Regions from separate parts of the Homo sapiens genome. Here all the other regions are linked to region 3. Evidence: promoter capture Hi-C in 16 types of primary human blood cells and fetal thymus (Javierre and others, 2016). All regions are on one chromosome and are shown on one strand. The core of a region is centred on a gene start or on the middle of the fragment in contact, and the rest is flanking DNA. Distances in the headings are between cores, read along the strand shown. Region 1 overlaps ZNF439 (zinc finger protein 439). Region 2 overlaps ZNF44 (zinc finger protein 44). Region 3 holds the start of ZNF433 (zinc finger protein 433). Region 4 has its middle 9.3 kb from the start of ZNF69. Region 5 has its middle 3.1 kb from the start of ZNF440. Region 6 has its middle 45 kb from the start of ZNF44. Region 7 has its middle 10 kb from the start of ZNF439.

Evidence for each region. Contacts are between HindIII fragments. The CHiCAGO score rates a contact against its expected background, and 5 or more counts as called.
Region 1: a contact is called between a fragment that was not itself captured here and the fragment with the promoter of ZNF433 in region 3, in 3 of 17 cell types (total CD4 T cells, erythroblasts and megakaryocytes). The highest score is 7.8, in total CD4 T cells.
Region 2: a contact is called between a fragment that was not itself captured here and the fragment with the promoter of ZNF433 in region 3, in 4 of 17 cell types (total CD8 T cells, erythroblasts, M1 macrophages and 1 more). The highest score is 5.9, in total CD8 T cells.
Region 4: a fragment that was not itself captured here is called in contact with the fragment with the promoter of ZNF433 in region 3 in 1 of 17 cell types (erythroblasts); the score reaches 6.1 in erythroblasts.
Region 5: a contact is called between a fragment that was not itself captured here and the fragment with the promoter of ZNF433 in region 3, in 3 of 17 cell types (total CD4 T cells, megakaryocytes and naive CD8 T cells). The highest score is 6.8, in total CD4 T cells.
Region 6: a fragment that was not itself captured here is called in contact with the fragment with the promoter of ZNF433 in region 3 in 3 of 17 cell types (fetal thymus, total CD8 T cells and erythroblasts); the score reaches 7.9 in fetal thymus.
Region 7: a fragment that was not itself captured here is called in contact with the fragment with the promoter of ZNF433 in region 3 in 7 of 17 cell types (total CD4 T cells, erythroblasts, M2 macrophages and 4 more); the score reaches 6.6 in total CD4 T cells.

Annotation. Positions count from the first base shown.
Region 1 is chr19:11,857,048-11,860,048 of GRCh38, reverse strand. All of the region lies in intron 1 of ZNF439 (zinc finger protein 439), which reads right to left. Among named protein-coding and RNA genes, the nearest start is that of ZNF439, 9.8 kb to the right of the region's middle. The HindIII fragment of the contact is 3,965 bases long and covers 1-3,001 here.
Region 2 is chr19:12,271,685-12,274,580 of GRCh38, reverse strand. It overlaps ZNF44 (zinc finger protein 44), which reads left to right. Exons shown (of 4, transcript NM_016264.4): 4 at 518-2,773. The coding sequence ends at 2,174. Among named protein-coding and RNA genes, the nearest start is that of ZNF44, 22 kb to the left of the region's middle. The HindIII fragment of the contact is 230 bases long and covers 1,465-1,694 here.
Region 3 is chr19:12,034,199-12,037,279 of GRCh38, reverse strand. ZNF433 (zinc finger protein 433) reads left to right here and starts at 1,601. Exons shown (of 4, transcript NM_001308348.2): 1 at 1,601-1,743. The coding sequence starts at 1,741. ZNF433-AS1 (ZNF433 and ZNF878 antisense RNA 1) reads right to left here. Exons shown (of 3, transcript NR_134929.1): 2 at 1,508-1,726. RefSeq lists silencers at 1,487-1,646, 1,887-1,936, 1,947-2,066. The HindIII fragment of the contact is 7,472 bases long and covers 1-2,555 here.
Region 4 is chr19:11,876,816-11,880,076 of GRCh38, reverse strand. No RefSeq gene overlaps it. Among named protein-coding and RNA genes, the nearest start is that of ZNF69, 9.3 kb to the left of the region's middle. The HindIII fragment of the contact is 570 bases long and covers 1,267-1,836 here.
Region 5 is chr19:11,809,626-11,812,721 of GRCh38, reverse strand. No RefSeq gene overlaps it. Among named protein-coding and RNA genes, the nearest start is that of ZNF440, 3.1 kb to the left of the region's middle. RefSeq lists a silencer at 349-458. The HindIII fragment of the contact is 8,771 bases long and covers 1-3,096 here.
Region 6 is chr19:12,248,153-12,251,395 of GRCh38, reverse strand. It overlaps a transcript of ZNF44 not described here. Among named protein-coding and RNA genes, the nearest start is that of ZNF44, 45 kb to the left of the region's middle. The HindIII fragment of the contact is 2,218 bases long and covers 614-2,831 here.
Region 7 is chr19:11,836,706-11,839,907 of GRCh38, reverse strand. No RefSeq gene overlaps it. Among named protein-coding and RNA genes, the nearest start is that of ZNF439, 10 kb to the left of the region's middle. The HindIII fragment of the contact is 1,799 bases long and covers 563-2,361 here.

The sequences.
Region 1 (3,001 bases), core at 268-2,767, 180 kb after region 3:
GAAAATTGGGACACAGCAGGTGAAGGATTAAAATGGGCTCATCAAAAAGGTCTAAAAGTTGATCCTTCTGTTTTCTCCACTTGGAGTTTAGTCCATACTGTCCTTCTGCCGTTATCTCCTTCTTATTCTGCTAGACAGCTGGAATCATATTCTGAGTCTAAAAATCTGAAAGAATCTTTTGTCCCACCCACAGTACCAACTGAAAATAATAAACAGGAGAAGGAGGATAAAAATTGGCCTATACCGCCCCCTCCAATAGCAGAAACATCTGTACTGCCTCCTTCGGTAGCAGAAATAGAGACCCCAAAACAAACAACTTTATGCTCTGCTGCCATAGCTGGAGAGCCCTTAGGACCTTGCGTTTTTCCTATTTCCATAAGGCCCGATTCAAATAATCCACAGCAGTTTATTCATGAACACACCCCCACTAGAGTTTAAGTTGTTGAAGGAATTAAAAGCTAGTGTAGTTAATAATGGAGTACAGAGCCCATTTACTTTAGGATTACCAGAATCTCTTTTTGGTGCTATGCGCCTTATACCCTTTGATGTAAAGCATTTGGCTCAGATTTGTTTGTCTGCTAGCGCATACCTAACACGGAATTTAAATTGGGAAGAAATGTGTGCAGACCAGGCTAGACAGAATCATGCTACTGGACATAGAGACATTACAGAGGATATGCTGTTGGGTAATGGCCCTTATTCAGACCTGGAACATCAAATGGCACTCCCAGACGCTGCTTATAAGCAGTGTGCACTGGCTGCTAAATGTGCCTGGGCCACAATTCCAGAGGAAGGGGTTCCAGTACAATCCTTTTTACATATCACGCAAGGGTTGCAGGAGCCCTGTGCACATTTTCTTGAAAGATTACAAGAGGCAGTGAAGAAACAGATTCCTCATACCATGGCTGCAGAGATGCAAACCGTAACTTTAGCTTTTGAGAATGCAAACGTAGATTGTAAATGTGCACTAGCACCTGTGAAGTATACAGAAGAGTTGGGAAATTTTCTCAGAGCTTCTCAGGATGTAGGAACTGAGCTTTATCATTCTACAATGTTAGGTCAAGCAATGGCTAATTTAGTAGTTGACAAATCTAAAAAGAGCCAAGGGTCAAACCCTAAAATGGGATATCAGAGCAGAAAAGGCTTAGAAAAGTCCCTACAGGGAAACCCTGATCCTATATCAATAAGTGGGCAAACAGATAGAAAAGGGCTAGGAGTCAGGATTTCTGATGGGGGTCATTGATACTTCTCCTTCACCTACTGCCTTACCATTAGAATGGCTCAGTGACAAACCTGTGTGGGTGGATCAATGGCCCCTATCACAGGAGAAACTAACTCAACTTCAGCAGTAGAAAAAGAGCAACTGGATGCAGGCCATAAAGAGGAGTCGGTTAGCCACTGGAATTCACCAGTGTTTGTAATTCCAAAGAAGTCAGGAAGATGGCGACTGCTGCATGATTTGAGAGCTATTAATGCACAAATTAAACTGATGGGTGCATTACAACAAGGCTTGCCATCTGCAGCCGTCATTCCTAGAGACTGGCCTCTTGTAGCAATAGACCCCCTTTTTTTTTTTTTTTTCCGAGATGGAGTCTCGCTCTGTCGCCCAGGCTGGAGTGCAGTGGTGCGATCTCGGCTCACTGCAAGCTCCGCCTTCCGGGTTCACGCCATTCTCCTGTTTCAGCCTCCCAAGTAGCTGGGACTACAGGTGCCTGCCACCATGCCTGGCTAATTTTTTTTTTTTTTGTATTTTTAGTAAAGACGGGGTTTCACCATGTTAGGCAGGATGGTCTTGATCTCCTGACCTCATGATCCACCCACCTCGGCCTCCCAAAGTGCTGGGATTACAGGCGTGAGCCATTGCGCCCGGCATAGACCTTTCTTTACTATACCCTTACACGAGAAGGATAAGCCTGGATCTGCCTTCTCTGTGCCTTCTATTCATCCAAGAGAACCTGTTTCTCTTTATCAAAGGAAAGTTTTACCCCAAGACATGCTTTACAGTCCTACGCTGTCAGCATTTTGTAGGACAAACATTGAAGGAGACTCTGAATATGTTTCCTACTGCTCACATCATTCATTTCATGGATGACATTCTTTTGGCCACTCCTACAGATCAAATCTTACATCAGTTATTCAGAGAAAGGAAGCAGGCTTTGACTAAATGGAATCTCAAAATTGGTCCAGAGAAAGTACAAGCAACTTCCCCATACCATTACTTAGGCACTATTGTTACTGAAAGAAGTGTTCGGCCTCAGAAAGTAGTTCTCCATAAAGACAGGTTACAGATTTTAAATGATTTTCAACAGTTGTTAGGGGATATTCATTGGCTGTGCGCAATGCTAGGTATTGCAACTTATCGACTCAAACATCTTTATCAAACCCTGCAAGGAGATTCTTCATTAGATTTCCCCGCAGCAATTGACCAAAGAGGCAGAAGCTGAGTTGCAACTTGTAGAACAGATGCTTCAGCAGAGACATGCCTCATGGCTGTAGCCGCAAAAGCCTTTGCTTATTCTTCATACCCCTCATTCTCCAACAGGACTCCTGGGCCAGTGCTTAGACAAGTCTGTATCAGTAATAGAATGGCTCTTTCTACCTAATCAAACAGTTAAAACCTTGCAAGCCTATCTTCCTTTAATTACACAACTTGTGACTATAGGTAGGCATAAATTAAAAGTGCTTATGGGGTATGATCCAGACGCAATTATTGTTTCCTTGGATTCCCAACAACAGGCCACAGCATGGGAAATATCGACTGTGTAGCAAATTGCTCTTGCAGATTTTGTGGAAATAATAGACAACCACTCTCCATCGGACAAAGTTTTACAATTTTATAATGTCTATTATTTTATCTTCCCTGTGATTACTCATCACGAGCCTATTCCAGGTGGTCAGGCCTATTTTACCGATGGCTCTTCCAAAGGGCGTGCAGCTATGTTGGGACCTAAACATACTCAGACAATAAGGATCTCTGGACTTTCAGCTCAACGCTCAGAGT
Region 2 (2,896 bases), core at 330-2,829, 240 kb before region 3:
AAAAAAAGGCCAGGCGCAGTGGCTTATGCCTGTAATCCCAGCACTTTGGGAGGCCGAGGTGGGTGGATCCACGAGGTCAGGAGATCGAGACCAACCTGGCCAACATGGTGAAACCCCATCTCTACTAAAAATACACAAAAATTAGCTGGGTGTGGTGGTGCATGCCTGTAGTCCCAGCTACTTGGGAGGCTGAGGCAGGAGAATCACTTGAACCTGGGAGGCGGAGGTTGCAGCAAGCCGAGACAGCACCAGCTGCACTCCAGCCTGATGACAGAGGGAGACTCCATCTCAAAAAAAAAAAAAAAAAAAAAAAAGAATTAAGAATCCCCATGTGCATATCATTGTCTTGAAAATAGCTGGGATTGAGTTATCTTGCACAACATTCAGTCCATTCACATTGAAGCAGGACATGAAGCTTATAGCTTGCCTGATAATGTTAAAAATGTAAATCTAATACCTGTTGATAAATATAAATTCAATAATAAACCTTTAGTAATGTACTTTTCATTTTTTACAGGTGTGATGTGGTAGAGAGATTTGGTAAAAGTAAAGATGGTAGTCAGTGTGGAGAAACCTTAAGCCAGATTCGAAATAGTATTGTAAACAAGAACACTCCCGCCAGAGTAGATGCATGTGGAAGCAGTGTGAATGGAGAAGTCATAATGGGTCATTCATCCCTGAATTGCTACATCAGAGTTGATACTGGACACAAACACCGGGAGTGTCATGAATATGCAGAGAAGTCATATACACATAAGCAGTGTGGGAAAGGCTTAAGTTATCGCCACTCCTTTCAAACATGTGAAAGGCCTCACACTGGAAAGAAACCCTATGATTGTAAGGAATGTGGAAAAACCTTCAGTTCTCCTGGAAACCTTCGAAGACATATGGTAGTAAAAGGTGGAGATGGACCTTATAAATGTGAATTGTGTGGGAAAGCCTTTTTTTGGCCCAGTTTATTACGTATGCATGAAAGAACTCACACTGGAGAGAAACCATATGAATGTAAGCAGTGTTCTAAAGCCTTCCCTGTTTACAGTTCCTATCTAAGACATGAAAAAATACACACTGGGGAGAAACCGTATGAATGTAAGCAGTGTTCTAAAGCCTTCCCTGATTACAGTTCATATCTAAGACATGAAAGAACTCACACTGGAGAGAAACCCTACAAATGTAAACAATGTGGGAAAGCCTTCAGTGTTTCCGGTTCCCTTCGAGTACATGAAAGAATTCACACTGGAGAGAAACCCTATACATGTAAACAGTGTGGGAAAGCGTTTTGTCATCTTGGAAGCTTTCAAAGACACATGATAATGCACAGTGGAGATGGACCTCATAAATGTAAGATATGTGGGAAAGGCTTTGATTTTCCTGGTTCAGCACGAATTCATGAAGGAACTCACACTCTAGAGAAACCCTATGAATGTAAGCAATGTGGGAAATTGTTATCTCATCGCTCAAGCTTTCGAAGACACATGATGGCACACACTGGAGATGGCCCTCATAAATGCACAGTATGTGGGAAAGCCTTTGATTCTCCTAGTGTATTTCAAAGACATGAAAGGACTCACACTGGAGAGAAACCCTATGAATGCAAGCAATGTGGGAAAGCCTTCCGTACTTCCAGTTCCCTTCGAAAACATGAAACAACACACACTGGAGAGCAACCCTATAAATGTAAATGTGGAAAAGCTTTTAGTGATTTATTTTCCTTTCAAAGTCATGAAACAACACACAGTGAAGAGGAGCCTTATGAATGTAAGGAGTGTGGGAAAGCATTTAGTTCTTTTAAATACTTTTGTCGCCATGAAAGGACTCACAGTGAAGAAAAATCTTATGAGTGTCAAATTTGTGGCAAAGCCTTCAGTCGTTTCAGTTACTTAAAAACTCATGAAAGGACTCACACGGCAGAGAAGCCATATGAATGTAAGCAATGCAGGAAAGCATTCTTTTGGCCCTCTTTCCTTCTAAGACATGAAAGGACTCACACTGGAGAAAGACCCTATGAATGTAAACACTGTGGTAAAGCCTTCAGTCGTTCCAGTTTCTGTCGAGAACATGAAAGAACTCACACTGGAGAGAAGCCCTATGAATGTAAGGAATGTGGGAAAGCCTTCAGTTCTCTCAGTTCCTTTAATAGACATAAAAGGACACACTGGAAGGATATTCTATAAGTGTATGGAATGTGGGAAAGCATTCATTGGTTTTATCACATTCAGATACTTGAAAGAAATAAATCCTGTGAATGTAAACGTGGTAAAGCCTTAAGAAGTTTCCAGGCTGGGCGCAGCGGCTCACACCTGTAATCCCAGCACTTTGAGAGGCCGAGGAGGGCAGATCACGAGGCCAGGAGATCGAGACCAGCCTGGCTAACATGGGAAACCCTGTCTCTACTAAAAATACGGAAAAAAAAAAAAATAGCCAGGCATAGTTGCTCACACCTGTAGTCCTAGCTACTCAGGAGGCTGAGGCAGGAGAATCCCTTGAACCCGGGAGGTGGAGGTTGCAGTGAGCCGAGATTGCACTACTGCACTCCAGCTTGGGTGCTAGAGCGAGACTCCATCTCAAAAAAAAAAAAAAAAGTTTCCATTTCTTTCAAATAGAGTTGCTGCCTGCTATATGCAAGAAGATTGGTTCCAGTACACCCTGAGTATACCTAAATCCACAGATGCCAGCTCTTTTATAAAATGGAATATTCGCATGTACCTACCCACATTCTCCTGTATACTCTATAAATGTCTAGATTAATTAAAATATCTCATGCATTGTAAAAGCTGTGTACATAGTTGTATTGTTTAGGGAATCATAAGAAAAAAAATCTATATGTGTTCAGTACAGACCCAACCATTGCAGGCCTATCTACATCGTATATATCACCTATAATGTTACAGTTTCT
Region 3 (3,081 bases), core at 352-2,851:
CCTTGCTTGGGAACCAGATTGCCTTTGTAAAACTAAGAAATTAGCCACAAGATTAGAAATTATGGTTCAGGAAATATGCGGCCAGAGTACACAAGATTCCCAACCTTCTCACTTGCTCCTGTGGATAATATTATTGTTGTAAGACCTAAGATTGGTGTTTGAGGTATTTTTGAGACCCTTCATTCTGATAAATTTGCTGGCATCACACAGACCAATAAACTGGCTCACCTGCTCCAGTGGCCCCTAGCCAAGAACTGACTCAGTGCAAGAAGACAGCTGAGACTTCCTGTGATATCCTTTTCGCGACCAATCAGCATTCCCCATTTTCCAGCCTTCTGCTCACCAAATTATCTTTAAAACCCTAGCCTCGGCCGGGTGCGGGGGCTCAGGCCTGTAATCCCAGCACTTTGGGAGGCCGAGGCGGGTGGATCATGAGGTCAGGAGTTTGAGACCAGCCTGACCAACATGGTAAACCCCGTCTCTACTAAAAATACAAAAATTAGCCGGGCATGGTGGCGCATGCCTGTAATCCCAGCTACTCAGGAGGTTGAGGCAGGAGAATCGCTTGAACCCGGGAGGCGGAGGTTGCACTGAGCCGAGATTGCGCCACTGCACTCCAGCATGGGCGACAGAGAGATTCCGTCTCAAAAAAAAACCAAAAAAACAAAACCTAGCCTCCCATTTTTTAGGGAGACAGAATTGAATAAAAATAAAACTCTTCTCTTTCATTTAGCCGGCTCTATGTATATTAAACTCCACTGCAATTCCCTGTCTTTTTTTTTTTTTTTTTTTTCGGAGACAGGGTCTCACTCTGACATCCAGGCTGGTAAAATCACAGCTCACTGTGGCCTCGACCTCTCTGGGCTCAGGCGATCCTCTCATTTCAGCCTTCCGAGTAGCTGGGACTGCAAACATGTACCACCACGCCCGACTAATTTTTGTATTTTTTGTAGAGGCGGGGTTTTGCTATGTTACCCAGGCTGGGCTTAAGTTCCTAGGCTCAAGCAATCTGCCTGCCTTGGCTTCCCAAAGTGGTGGGGTTACAGGCATGAGCTACCCCCACCCCCCCAGCCCACCGCCGGACGAGCTAAAGTTTCTATTCAACAGTACTCTATGGCAGGGGTCCCCAACCCCCGGTCCATGGCCTGTAAGGAACCAGTCCGCACAGCAGGAGGTGAGCGGCTGGCGGGCGAGCCAGCGGGCATTATCGCCAGAGATATGCTTCCTGTCAGATCAGCAGAGGCATTAGTCTGTCATAGGAGCCCGAACCCTATTGTGAGCTGCACATGCGAGGGATCTAGGTTGGGTTCGCCTTATGAGGATAAAATGCCTGATCTGAGGTGGAAGTTTCATTCCGAAACTATCTGCCCCCGTAGGAGAACTGTCTTCCACGAAACCGGTTCTGGTGCTAAAAAGGTTACAGACCTCTGGCTTAAAGAATCTATCGCTGGATCCGGTCAAACCCGTTTTCAGAGCCCCGTTACCAAGGGCTTCTATTGTCACTCACGGCTGAGGGGGCGGGGCCCGGCGCTTCGTCCAATCAGGGGCGCTGGGCGGGGCCTGCCGAGTGTCCATCGGGGAGGGCGAAGGCCCTGCTCTCCTCGGTTCCCGGCTCCAGGCGGCGAGCTGAGGTTGGGAGCCTGGCTTTCCCCTCCGAGAGGGTTCAGGTGCCTCTGCCATAGCTTCTGTCGCCTGTGCTGTGACCCGCACTGGTCGTGGGAGTCACCTGAAAGGCAAGAAATGGTGAGCGTGCGGGCCAGGGGTCCCGAGGCGGGGGAGGAGCTGGTTGGAACCGGCCGGAACCGGCTGTGGTGGGACCCGGGCCTCCCCGCGGCGACTCCGGGGTCTGGGACCCGATTTCCCGTGGGACAGCTCGGCCCTTGGTCCCCTTGGCCCCACAGTGGGGCTGGGCCGGCCGCCGGGACCCGGGCGTCTCGTCCTGTCCCTGCGCGGTGACTGTCACCCAGTTCCCAGAGCCCTCTCTGGGCAGCTCCGCGCCCGCTGCCCCGCGTCTCCCCACATTGTGCGGGGACTACGCGAGGGTCATGGGGGGATCCCGCCTCGGGTGTGGGGGTTTGTGTAGGAGGAGGGTGGGCTGTGGGGTCCCCAGTAGCGCCTTTCTCCTCTTAAAAATTAAACTGAGACACGTTAACAATTATAGTTTTGCTTCTCAGAATAGGTTTTAAAAAATATATTAATAATTAGAGTTCCTTTGAGATTCCTGAATGATAAACACCCAGTCCTGGCTTGTAATTTGTTAACGGAAAATGCCAAGCTGTGTAAAATAACTTAAAGAAGTTTATTCAGAGCCGAATAGGAGAGGCCTCAGCTGAGGAAAACACAACCCCAGGAGGCCTGAAGTAAGTGGTCCCGAGGCGGCTCAAGACTGTTTTTATTCATTTCAGGGAGACAGGAATTGCAGGGAGAATCATGCATCAATGCCTGGAAAGGTGTAAGTTCCTTTGGCAGAAAGGGCGGGACCTGTGGAAGGGGGGTTAGAAGGTGCAGGTGGTTGAGGGATTCTGAAGGTGGCCGTTGGTGGAGAGTGTGAAGCTTTGTCTAAAACTTCGAGGCGGTAGGAAGGATTGCTTAAGTGAAGAGGGTCTGGTATCTGTCATATGATTTCATCCCACCCAAAACAAAAGACCTGTTTCTTTAGATTTTGTGAATTCTAAGATTTGACTTACCTCTTGCCTTGCATGGCCTTAGGTCTTGTTTGTAATTTGGTTTCTTATTGTCACAGAGAGTCTGTGTTTCCAGTTGGCTGATGTCTGTTTTAACATGAAGGTGGGTCAGTGGCTATGTGGAAACTCCTAAAGGAAGCGGGTATAATGAGGCCTGTCCAGGTATAGTGAAGCCTGTCTGATGGTTAATCTGTAGTCAAGTGTGGGAGGGTTCCAGCTGGCTCTTTCCAGTGTCAGGTGACTCAATTCCAGAGTCACATTACTTTAAACTTCAAGATAATTTAGAGTTCCAACAGCTTCAATTTTTGAATTACTTATTTTCACAGACCATACAGTGGAAAATTTTTGGTTGTATAATCAGAGGTTACTCGACCAATTGTACCTGGTTAAGCCCATA
Region 4 (3,261 bases), core at 302-2,801, 160 kb after region 3:
ACCGGCCTCGGGCTCTGCTGCCCCCTGCAGGTTATTCAGCTACTTCTCACCCCATTGATCAGTTCCATGACACAAACACCCTCAATCCCATTGTGTGAATAAGACACCAGCAGAGTCCCTGCTCTCCTCCTATGTTTATGTATAAAGTGGGGAAGGAAAATTCTAAGATAACTTAAGTGCATTTAAAAGATTTCCAGATCGTGGTGGAGGTGGCAGCTGAGGGACGCACGTTCAGTGACACTGCAGTACCTCCGGGCCTGGCTGGTTGGAGAGAGGGTGGAGAGCTGGAGATGAATGTGGATATATGGAGGGAGCAGCCCTGGGAACCGGGCTCTGCAGCAGCGCGGCTCTAGGGCCTGGAGCCCGGGGGAGCAGAGATGATGGGGGCTCCTGGGACAGGACGCTTGGGGAGAAGAGAGTCAGGCGGTTTCCATGGGACAGGGGTGCTGTGGCAGCTGGTGTGGGCCTGTGGCTATCATAACTAAGCCCGATTGGGACGTGAAAACTTGGATTCCGTGGGAATTTATGAAGAGGAAGGCTCTGATGACAAAGAAGTCATCGATGAGGAGAGGGATTAGGGTCACTGGCAAGCTCGCCCCCTTATGGAAAGAAAAGTGAACGTTCAGCTACTGCGGCAAAATGGGGTCAAAGGATGAGACTCTCACTGTCAGGGAATAAATTGCTGCAGAACTCTTAGAGATTGCAAAGACCTTCAAACAACAGCCTGGGAGGCCGGGTGCCATGGCTCACGCCTGTAATCCCAACATTTTGGGAGGCCAAAGTGGGAGGATCGCTTGAAGCCCGAGATTGGAGACCACCCTGAGCCGTGAAGTGAGACCCTCCCATCTCCATAAAAAATTTTTAATTACCAAGGAGAAGTGTGTGTACCTACAGTCTCAGCTACTCAGGAGGCTGAGACAGGAGAGTCACTTGAACCCCAAAGTTTGAGGCTGCTGTGAGCTATAATTGGGTACTGCGCTTCAGCAAGACACTGTCTCAAAACAAACAAACAAAAAATTAAAATCCCACCAAACTCCCTGGGGAAACCCTGTACCCCTTTGATGGTCAAAGTGTAAAATACAGCAGGTGGTGACATTTCCTTATGGACTGGATCATTCTAGCCACGTAAGAGGCTTGGCCTACTGAAGATTTACCAAGCGGGATCACCTCCTTGCAGTCAGTGGAAAAAGCCCCCGGTGAAACCATCCCTTTAAACTTTATCAAATTCATCAGGGAGGATGGGAGGAGGAAAACTTAAACCAAGCTTGCGGCACCTTCAGCATTAATCATCAAGTCAGCTTGTTCTCTGACCTTCCTCATATTTGTTTCATACCTAGTGTCCTAGAATCCCATAGACCCTAAATGATAGTTCCCGTTAACTGCTCTATACATAACAATTTGAACATTAGATATTTTCCCTTATAAATATTCCTTTTTGAGTTCTGGGTGCATTGGTTCATAACTGTAATCTCAGCACTTTGGGAGGCTGAGGTGGGAGGATCACTTGAGCCTTGGAGTTCAAGAACAGCCTGGGCAATAGAGTGAGACTCCATCTGTACAAAAAATTTAAAAACAGCCGGGCATAGTGGCATGTGCCTTTACTCCCAGCTACTTGTGAGGCTGAGGCAGGAGGATCCCTTGAGCCCGAGTTTCTACAGTGAGCTATGATCCCACCACTGCACTCCAGCCTGGGAAACAGAGCCATACTATTTCTCTTAAGAAAAAAAATCCAGACATTTGTTGGTCTTTGGATTATTGGAGAGCATTTATCTGACACTTAGCCCAATGTTTTAGAAAGGGGCACTTTGGGACTGGGACACAGCTCTGAAGGAAGCTTTGGACAGGTTAATGTGTTAGTATGGCAGGCACAAGCCTCAGGCACACCTTTAGAGGGTAGAGCTGTGACTTGGGATGATATAGTTGCTGCTGAGGGTACAATTTGGGACTTACGGCAACCACAGTGTGGTAAATCAGTCCCTTTAGGATTGTGGTTGTAATTATGACATGGAGATGAAACCAGACACTCTTGAGTCAGTGCAGGCAGTATATAATGCTTTCCAGCAGGTGGAATCCTTAAGAAAGAGCCTTTGCATGACTGTGAGAATGGGAGTACCATGCCCAGCTAATTTTTTTGTATTTTTAGTAGAGATGTGGTTTCACCATGTTGTCCAGGCTGGTCTTGAACTCCTGAGCTCAGGTGATCCACCCGCCTCAGCCCCACAAAGTGCTGGGATTACAGGTGTGAGCCACCGTGCCTGGCCTCCCACTAAGTTTCTTTCATTTGCCCTGGCACAGTTTCTCATGCCTTAATCCCAGCATTTTGGGTGGCTGAGGTGAGTAAATCGCTTGAGCCCAAAAGTTTGGGCTATGACCACACGGGGCAACATAGGCCTAGTCTCTATTTTTATTAAAAACAGAATATACACACACATATGAATGAGAGGCCGAGTGTGGTGGTTTATGCATGTAATCCTAGTGCTTTGGGAGGCCAAGGCAGGTGGATCACCTGAGGTCAAGAGTTCGAGAACCACCTGGCCAACATGTTGAAACCCCATCTCTAACTAACAGTACAAAAATTATCTGGATGTGGTGGCACGCACCTGTAAACCCAGCTACTTGGGAGGCTGAGGCAGGAGAATCACTTGAACCTGGGAGTCAGAACTGGCAGTGAGCCGAGATTGCATAATTGCACTCCAGCCTGGGTAACAGAGCAAAAACTCCATCTCAAAAAAAAAAGCAAGAAAAAAAAAAAAGAAAAACTTTCTTTTTAGTCCCTAGTTGGTAGGCTATCACTAATATCACCAGCAGTTGTCTATGAGGCAAACCTGTTCTCACAATGGGTCCAAAAGGAAAAGTAGATTTGGAGACATTACAGGTAGATCCAAATGCAGCACTTGTACGACAGTATATGGTTAATGTGAGGACTCTTGGGGTGACTTAGCTCAGGCTAGTATAACAAAGTACCATGGACTCAGTTTCTTAAACAGCAGAAATTTGTTTTTCACAGTTCTGAAGCTTGGGAAGTCTGAAATCTTGCTGCCAACAATTTTGTTCCTAGTGAAGGCTATCTTCCTGGCTTGCAGCTAGATGCCTTCTTGCTTTGTCCTTACATGCTGGAGAGGCAGAGTTCTCTCTCTCTCTTACTAATCCCATTGTGAGAGCCCTCCTTTATAAATGTATGTGATCTCCTAAAAGGTCCGTGTCCAAATATGACCCTGTTGGGGTTTAGGACTTGTAACTATAAATTTTGTTTTTGAGACA
Region 5 (3,096 bases), core at 366-2,865, 220 kb after region 3:
GCTTATGTGTGAAAGTATTCATACATATTCATTGTTCAGACACAGATAACCATGGCAAGATGAGGTGCTATGAAAAACTATGTTGGGACAACAGGTACTATCAAGGATTATCACTGGCAAACCGGGACACATGGTCAGATGATTTCTGAGGCAGTTTTGTACCTTATGTAAAGGTAGAAAGTGTTGGAACTAGAAGACATCGAGCTGGAGTCAGTTGCAGAATTGATGCTTTGCTTGGCATGTGGGGGACACTTCTCAAATATTTGCATTTGGTCACAGAAGTATTCCGTGTTGTGTGAGAGCAGAGGAAAAAGAGTAGACTTTTTTTCCACTCTTAAGTCTCAGCACAACTCAGAAATCCAGTCCCCCAGACAGGATGTGTGGATGTTAAAGTCGCCCTCACCACAAGAGGGAGCTTCATTGACTTCCCCTATCTGGAAAATGGCTCAAAGGTGTTTTCTAAAAGACTTTTTAATGTAAGGCATATCAGTTATTAGAAATAAAGGTAGGACAGGTGTGGTGGCTCACACCAGTAATACCAGCATTTTGGAAGGCCAAGGTAGGAGGATCGCTTGAGGCCAGGAGTTTGAGACCAGCCTGGGCAACATAGTGGGACCCTGTCTCTACCCGAAAAAAGAAAAAAAGTTAAGGTAACATCACTGAATTTGGTTTCATTTACATGATTTTTCTTTTCTTTTCTTCTTTCTTTCTTTCTTTCTTTCTTTCTTTCTTTCTTTCTTTCTTTCTTTCTTTCTTTCTTTCTTTCTTTCTCTCTCTCCCTCTCTCTCTCTCTCTTTCTTTCTTTCTTTCTTTCTTTCTTTCTTTTTTTTTTTTTACAAGGTCTCCCTCTGTCACCCAGGCTGGAGTACAGTGGTGCAAACAGAGCTCACTGCAGCCTTGATCTTCCGGACTCAAGCAATTCTCCCACCTCAGCCTCCCAAGTAGAGCCTGGGACCACAGGTGTGCGCCACCAAGCCCAGCGAATTTTTGTATTTTTTGTACAGATGGGGTTTCACTGTGTTGCCCAGACTGCTCTCCAACTCCTGGCCTCAAGTGACCCTCCCACTTTAGCTTCCTAAAGTGCTGGGATTACAGGTTCTGAGGCACCATGCCTGGCCAATTTAATTTTTCATAGATTGATTTTTAAAAAGTAATGAACCTGGCTGGGCATAGTGGTCATGCCTGTAATCCCAGCACTTTGGGAGGCTGAGGTGAGTGGATCACCTGAGGTTGGGAGTTCGAGACCAGCCTAGCCAACATGGTGAAACCCCATCTCTACTAAAAATACAAAAATTAGCTGAGTGTGGTGGTGCATGCCTGTAATCCCAGCTACTAAGGAGGCTGAAGCAGGAGAATCGCTTGAACCTGGAAGGTGGAGGTTGCAATGAGCCGAGATCACACCATTGCACTCCAGCCTGGGCAGCGACAAAGAGAGACTCTGTCTCAAAAAAAGAAAAAGAAAAAGAAAAAGAATAAGCAATAAACCCTGTGAACTTTGATTAGATTTCCCAGATCCTAAAAAGTGCAGTGTAACAAAAAACTGAATGGAAAGAAGTAGGACTAACTGAGGTGAGAGGAAGAACCCTCTGTGGAGGTGACATTTGAGGTGACCTGATATAATGTATTAGTATAAAGAAAATGTTAAAATGAACATTATGGGAGGCCATTGTTTTGGACTGAGCTTCTGCACTAGGCACTTAGAAACCAGATCAGACCAAAATGGAGTCACTCATGCTAAATGCCACATAACGAAACTGAAACTTAAAGGAAGCGAATAGATCCCTATACAGATGAATTTTTCCATCGAAAACCAGTTCAGTATCCTGTTGGCCAGACTGGTCTCAATTTGAGAAACATCAAGACACCTCCATAGTCAAGGCTAATAATGTCCAGGCTGTGTCCTGTTCATCACCTAAACCTGCACCTCTAGTGTTCCTTACCTTCACTGGCCATCCCAACACAGTGCCCGCCTCCTGTAGAAAATCACATCTGGAGTGAAGTTGGTGGCGTTGTTTGTACTCTAACCAAACTCTCAGAGTGCATTTGGCCTTCAAGGGAGAAGGATGAGGTCGTGTTTGGTTTCAGACACACCTAACTCTGTATTACCATCTCTTTCTTGATCTAAGCGACACTCTATAAAAACTGATAGGCAATGGGCTGGGTGCAGTAGCTCACGCCTGTAATCCCAGCACTTTGGGAGGCCGAGGCAGGTGGATCACAAGGTCAGGAGTTCAAGACTAGCCTGGCCAACATGGTGAAACGCCGTCTCTACTAAAAATACAAAAATTAGCCGGGTGTGGTGGCGGGCACCTGTAATCCCAGCTACTTGGGAGGCTGAGGCAGGACAATAGCTTGAACCCAGGAGGCAGAGGTTGCAGTGAGCCAAGATCGTGCCACTGCACTCCAGCCTGGGTGACAAAGTGAGACTCCATCTCAAAAAAAAAAAAAATGACAGGCAATGACAGTACCTTTCACTTATGTTGATACCTAATCTGGGGATGGATGTGTCATCTGCACATAGAGTCAGGGGTTGGTCACTCATTGCTGCTCTGTCCTGTGGTACCAGGTTTTGACTCTAGGGGGTTTCAAACAGGCTTCTCTGAAGAAGAGTTTGGCTGGCACTTCAAAAAAGTGATTGGATTGGTCCATGCCACTGCATAATATATAAAACTAACTTTTCCATGTTGCCTATTACTCTACAGTGTGGCATAAAAGGGTTGCTGAACTCCTGTTCGAGATCAGCCTGGGCAACATGGTGAAACCTTGTCTCTAAAAAAAAAAATACAAAAATTAGCTGGGCATGGTCCCAGCTACTTGGGAGGCTAAGGTGGGAGGATCGCTTGAGCCCAGGAGGTGGAGATTGCAGTGAGCCGAGATCACGCCACTGCACTCCACATAGCCTGGGTGATAGAATGAGACCCTGTGTCAAAAAGAAAAAAGAGGGGTGCATCAAGAGCATATTATCTGAGCAAGAAAGGCTTGGTTGGAATAGTGATACTGACTTTCATCCTTCCTAGGCGTGCATTCAGACAGTTACATAAATATATTGACCACACTTGACTCAGTAAGGAATTTCTTTAAAAGTATTATACAGCT
Region 6 (3,243 bases), core at 473-2,972, 210 kb before region 3:
CAGCCCCCTGAGTAGCTGGGATTAGAGATGCGCACCACTACACCCAGCTAATTTTTTTTTTTTTTTGAGACAGAGTCTCGCTCCGTTGCCCAGGCTGGAGTGCAATGTGCGATCTTGGCTCACTGTACCCTCCACCTCCCAGATTCAAGTGATTCTCCTGCCTCAGCCTCCTAAGTAGCTGGAATTATAGGCATGCACCACCACACCCAGCTAATTTTGTATTTTTAGTAGAGATGGGGTTTCACCATTTTAGCCAGGCTGGTCTGGAACCCCCGACCTCAGGTGATCCACCCTCCTCGGTCTCCCAAAGTGCTGGGATTACAGGTGTGAGCCACCAAGACAGGGTTTCACCATGTTGCCCAGGCTGGTCTCGAACTCTTGAGCTCAGATAATCTGCCCGCCTCGGCCTCCCAAAGTGCTAGGATTACACGTGTGAGCCATTGTGCCCAGCCAACTTCTCCAAAAGAAATATTTTGATTGAATTGGCTGGATCTGACTACCTCGAATATCCTAGAGTACCTCAGGACAATATGGTCAGGTAAATATTGTTACAAGTTTGATTTCCACGTGCCTCTTGTTCTCATGCTTAGTGATGGGAATAGTAGAAAAAGCTTCTAGTTCTTCAGTGTGCTTTTATTCATCCACGTATTATCCATGTTTGACCCTGTGTCTCATGGAATGTTGAGTGATGTGATGTATAAGAAGAAGATGAGTTTTTCTCACAAAGAATTGATGGTCTTAAAATGGAATTTTTTTGTACAGCATTTCTCTCACTTTTCCAGAGTGCTCTGGATCCTGCCATTGGAAAGCAATATGATTGTGATCACAGTGAAAGTGTAGAAATAATTTTCGTGTGTTCATAAACTACTGAGGGAGTGTGGCCAAAGAGTTAGAGTTCTGACAACAAATTCATAGAATAAATCTCTGGAGATCACAGAATCATCGTGAACATCTTATGACTCGAGTATAGATGTCCAGTGCTGTCAGTCTCACCCATTCTCCTTTACACACATTTGGAATGTTTTAGGACTCAGTGACCTTTGAAGATGTGGCTGTGAACTTCACCCAGGAGGAATGGACTTTGCTGGATCCTTCACAGAAAAAACTCTACAGAGACGTGATGTGGGAAACCTTCAGGAACCTGGCCACTATAGGTAAAAATGAAATCATTCCATCATGTTGTTGAATGAATTAGAGAATACCTTTTTCTTGGATATCAATGCTATTCCAAGATGTGGAATGTGAAAAGGCAAAATTCTTTTGTAAATCAGGCATGGTCACATATGGACCTAGAATCTAATAATTTTTCTGTAATTTCTAATAATTTATGATAATTTTTTCTGGGTCTGCATTTCAGGAACAAAACAAAAAGAATGGAACATTGAAGAGCAGTACAAAAACCAGGGGAGAAATCTCAGGTGAGTCACACTCAGAAAAGAAAGCAGTATTCTAGGAGAAAAATCTTAGTATGTCATTAAATTTGATAATTAAAGAAACAAAACAAGCTGAGCCTCAAATGTATCTGTTCTTAGAAAATATTAACCCAGCTAGCGCAGTGGCTCATGCCTGTAATCCCAGCACTTTGGGAAGCTGAGGCAGCCGGATCACCTGAGGTCGGGAGTTCAAGACCAGCCTGACCAACATGGAGAAACCCCATCTCTACTAAAAATACAAAATTAGCCGGGCATGGTGGCACATGCCTGTAATCCCAGCTACTTCGGAGGCTGAGGCAGGAGAATCGCTTTAACCCGGGAGGCGGAGGCTGCAGTAAGCCGAGATTGTGCCATTGCACTGTAGCCTGGGCAACAAGAGTGAAGCTCCATCTCGGGAAAAATAAATAAATAAAAATAACCCAAAGTGCTTTCTTTTCTTTTTTTTTTTTTTTTTTCTGAGACGGAGTCTTGCTCTGTCGCCCAAGCTGGAGTGCAGTGGCGTGATCTCGGCTCACTGCAAGCTCTGCCTCTTGGGTTCACACCATTCTCCTGCCTCAGCCTCCCGAGTAGCTGGGACTACAGGCGCCCACCACCACGCCCGGCTAATTTTTTGTATTTTTAGTAGAGACGGGGTTTCACTGTGTTTAGCCAGGATGGTCTCGATCTCCTGACCTTGTGATCCGCCCGCCTCGGCCTCCCAAAGTGCTGGGATTACAGGTGTGAGCCACCACGCCTGGCCCCAAAGTGCTTTCTTAAATATGGCATAGATGTTCATGGTCCAGGCGCGGTGGCTCCCGCCTATAATCCCAGCACTTTGGGAAGCCGAGGTGGGTGGATTGTGAGGTCAGGAGTTCAAGACCAGCCTCGGCAACATAGTGAAAAAGTAGCCGGGCGCAATGGCAGGTGCCTGTAATCCCTGCTACTCAGGAGGCTGAGGCAGGAGAATCAGTTGAACCCGGGTGGCAGAGGTTGCAGTGAGCCAAGATCGCACCACTGCACTCCAGCCTGGGCGACAGAGTGTAGCCTGGGTGACAGAGTGAGACTCCGTCTCAAAAAAAAAAAAAAAGAGAAACCCATATATGAAAATCACTGTTTTCATAACAGTTATGTTTGAGCCCTCTTGCAGGGCCATAGCATTCAGTACATTCACCTCACAAGCAATTTAGACAGGACAAAAAAATCTGTACTTTCCCTGAAAGTGGAAAAAATAGTTATTCTAGTATCAGTTAATAAAGAGAAAATCTTTAAAAAATGAACTATTAATGTGCTACTCATTTTTTACAGAAATCATATGGTAGAGAGACTCTGTGAAAGTAAAGAAGGTAGTCATGGCGGAGAAGGTTTCAGCCAGATTGCAAATCTCAGTCTGAACAAGAAAACTCCTTCTGGAGGAAAGCTTTGGGAAAGCAGTGTATGTGGAAAAGTCTTGAGCCATCATTCATCCCTTAACAGGCACATTAGATCTTACACCAGACACAAACTGTATAAGTGTCAGGAATATGGAGAGAAGCCATATAAATGTAAGAAATGTGGGAAACCCTTCAGTTATCTGCAGTCTTTTAAAAAACATAAAAGAACACACAGTGCAGGGATAGTCTACAAATGTAAGGCCTGTGGGAAAGCCTTCAGTTGTCAACGTTCTTTCCAAATACATGGAAGGACTCACACTGGAGATAAACCCTTTAAGTGTAAAGAATGTGGAAAAGCATTCCGATACCACCAATCTGCTCAAAAACATGAAAAGGCTCATACTGGAGAGAAACCCTACAAATGTAAGGAATGTGGGAAACCCTTCATTTACCGCCATTCT
Region 7 (3,202 bases), core at 213-2,712, 200 kb after region 3:
CAGTCAATAAACATATTGAGAAATGTGTTTACACTACTATGTAATTGCTCCTTCCCTGTGCATGTCAAAAAGATTCTCTTCCTTGTTCTTAGGCTGTAAATGATTAGAAAAGACAGAGAAGTGCCAGAGGTAGGATCCTTTTGAGACCACTACCCCTCCTTACAAAAAGTTAAAGCAGGCCGGCTGCAGTGGCTCACACCTGTAATCCCAGCACTTTGGGAGGCCGAGGCAGGCGGATCATGAGGTCAGGAGTTTGAGACCAGCCTGACCAACATGGTGAACTCCGTCTTTACTAAAAATACTAAAATTAGCCGGGCATGGTGGCACGTGCCTGTAATCCCAGCTACTCAGGAGTCTGAGGCAGGAGAATTGCTTGAACCCGGGAGGTGGAGGTTGCAGTGAGCTGAGATTGCGCCATTGCACTCCAGCCTGGGCGACCGAACAAGACTCCATCCAAAAAAAAAAGTTAAAGCAATCATCCTTGAAATTTGGTAGCTGCAACCTATCAAATCACTGAAATGTGTGCACCGGCCTTGTATGGAAAATGTCACCCTGTTAAGCTTCATTTTGCCCTATAGAAGAGAAGACTCAAATTCCCCGTGTTGGAGCACTGACCCCACTCTTCAGGATATCTGTTTCCCCAGTGGCTATCCTCAAACTATGTGCTCAGATAAACTCAGCATTTAATCATATTCTCTGAATCTTATTATCTTATTAAGGTGCACAATATTATTTCATTATTATTTCCATGATAACAAAGCACATACTACACATTAATCATATGTGAACACAAACATATGACAACAGTTGCCAGCCAGGTCTTACCCCACAGATAACAGGAAGAAGAAGAGTTATCCACCATTACAAGTTCCCCAACCTGCAAAGGAGGACTGGTATTTTGCTGAATCTTTGTAATTCACCAATTTATCTACTATACTTTATTGTGGAAGATTATTCATTTTCTCAAGCTGTAATAAAAGATTTTCTCTATTTCTTTTCCCAATCAGCATTCTCAACGCTATGCCCTGAAACTCTGTTACAAATCATCCAAAAATGGCCATGCACTGTGGCTCAAACTTGTAATACCAGCACTTTGGGTGTAGTGGTGTGTGCCTGTGGTCTCAGCTACTACGGAGGCTGAGGTGGGAGGATAGCTTGTGCCTGGAAGATGGAGATTGCAGTGAGCTGAGATTGTGCTACCTCATCCCAGTCTGGGCAACAAAGCCAGACCCTATCTTAAAAAAAAAAAAAGGAAAGAAAGAAAGAAAAAGAAATAAAGAAATCATCCACAAAAAAGGACAGACTTAAGAAATGTACTACACCACATCTGAAGAAGAAAAAAATTAAGAATTTTGAGACTGGGTGCGGTGGCTCACGCCTGTAATCCCAGCACTTTGGGAGGCCAAGGCTTGTGGATAACAAGGCCAGGAGTTCGAGACCAGCTTGGCCAATATCGTGAAACCCCATCTCTACTAAAAATACAAAAATTAGCCAGGTGTGGTGGCACGTGCCTGTGATCCCAGCTACTCAGGAGGCTGAGGCAGGAGAATCACTTGAACCCAGGAGGCAGAGGTTGCAATGCCCCGAGATCACACCAATGCATTCCAGCCTGGGTGAGAGAGCGAGACTTTGTCTCAAAAAAAAAAAATTTTTTTTTTGAAACAAATGCTATATAAGACTAATGATTTATTTCTGACATCTATTTTTATCTTGGCTCTGTGCAAAATTTTCTTATTTTTCCAGCTGTAGTGAAAATGCAATTTACAATTAATTTTAAAAATCTGAAGCTGCAATAAGTGAACAAATATATATATATATATATATATATTTTTTTTTTTTTTAGAAGGGCTCTCACTCTGTGGCCCAGGCCGGAGTGCAGTGCTGCAATCACAGTTCACTGCAGCATCAATCTCCCAGGCTCAGGTTATCCTTCTGCCTCAGCCTCCTGGATAGCTGGGAGTACAGGTACGTGCCACCATATCCAGCTAATTTTTTGTATTTTTTGTAGAGAAGAGGTTTTGTCATGTTGCCATGGCAGGTCTTGAGCTCCTGGGCTCAAGTGATCCTCCTTCCTTGGCCTCTGTGAGCCACTGTGTCCAGCAACAAATAATTCTTTACAAGGGAACAAACCCTGTCTGGGTATGGCGGCTCATGCTTGTAATCCTAGCACTTTCGGAGACTGAGCTGGGAGGATTGCTTGAGAAAAAGAATTAGATAACAGCCTGGGCAACATAGCATAATCCTGTCCCTATTACTTAAAAGTCTAAATAAAAGTCTGAAAAGCAGCATTTCCCACCTATTCTCTATGAGGGAGCCTTCATCTACATAACAAGGTCTCCTTAGCTACACAGGAGGTAAGCTTCTTCCTTTCCTCTTCCCTAATCTGTCTTGCCATTAAACCTGACTTACCCACCAAACCCGGGATTTTTTGGCCAGCCAAGTCTGCATTCTTTCTTGGCCTCAGAATGGTAATATAAGCTTTTTTGTCTTATTGTTGGGTGGGTCTTCATTCTGAAGGCTCCCATATATACATGTTAAATAAATTTGTATGACTCTTCTCCTATTAATCCAAGTTCCATGATCTGAAAAAATTTTTCCTGTCTTTTCACCTTATTTTATAAAAAAAGTGCAAGACCATGTATATCTAAAAATGAGCATTTTTGTATCTCAGAAATCAAGATATTTTCCATATATAACCAGAAAATGGTATTCATATTTAAAAATGTCCTAATATCAACACATTGAGGGATATTAAAACATCATTAATAGCGTAAAGTGGAATTCTGGAAGCTTAGCTTTGAATACATTTCATTTTGTCTGTTAAACATTGAAGAGAGTATGTGGTGTTAGGATATGTATTTGGTTTTCATCTAGGGTAATAATGTTGGGTATGTTAGGCCTCCGGGAAAGTCCTTGACCTTCTGCTGCCCTCCTTCCACTCTAATGTTTCCCCACCTTTTTGATTGTGGGTCTTAAAACCCTCCCATGAGAGGGTCCCACTGACTTCATGAAGTTTTTTCCTACAGAGTGTAGCCTTGGAAATACTCATTATATACCCTATCTGTAGCTGTGTGTCTGAAGGTAGTTCCAGAATAAACCATGAGTGTGAGGATTGCTTAAATAACTTATTTCTAAATGCTGAAACAAAAATTTCAGATTTCCTTGTCTAACCAGATGCAGAAAAGCATATGTTATAGATAAA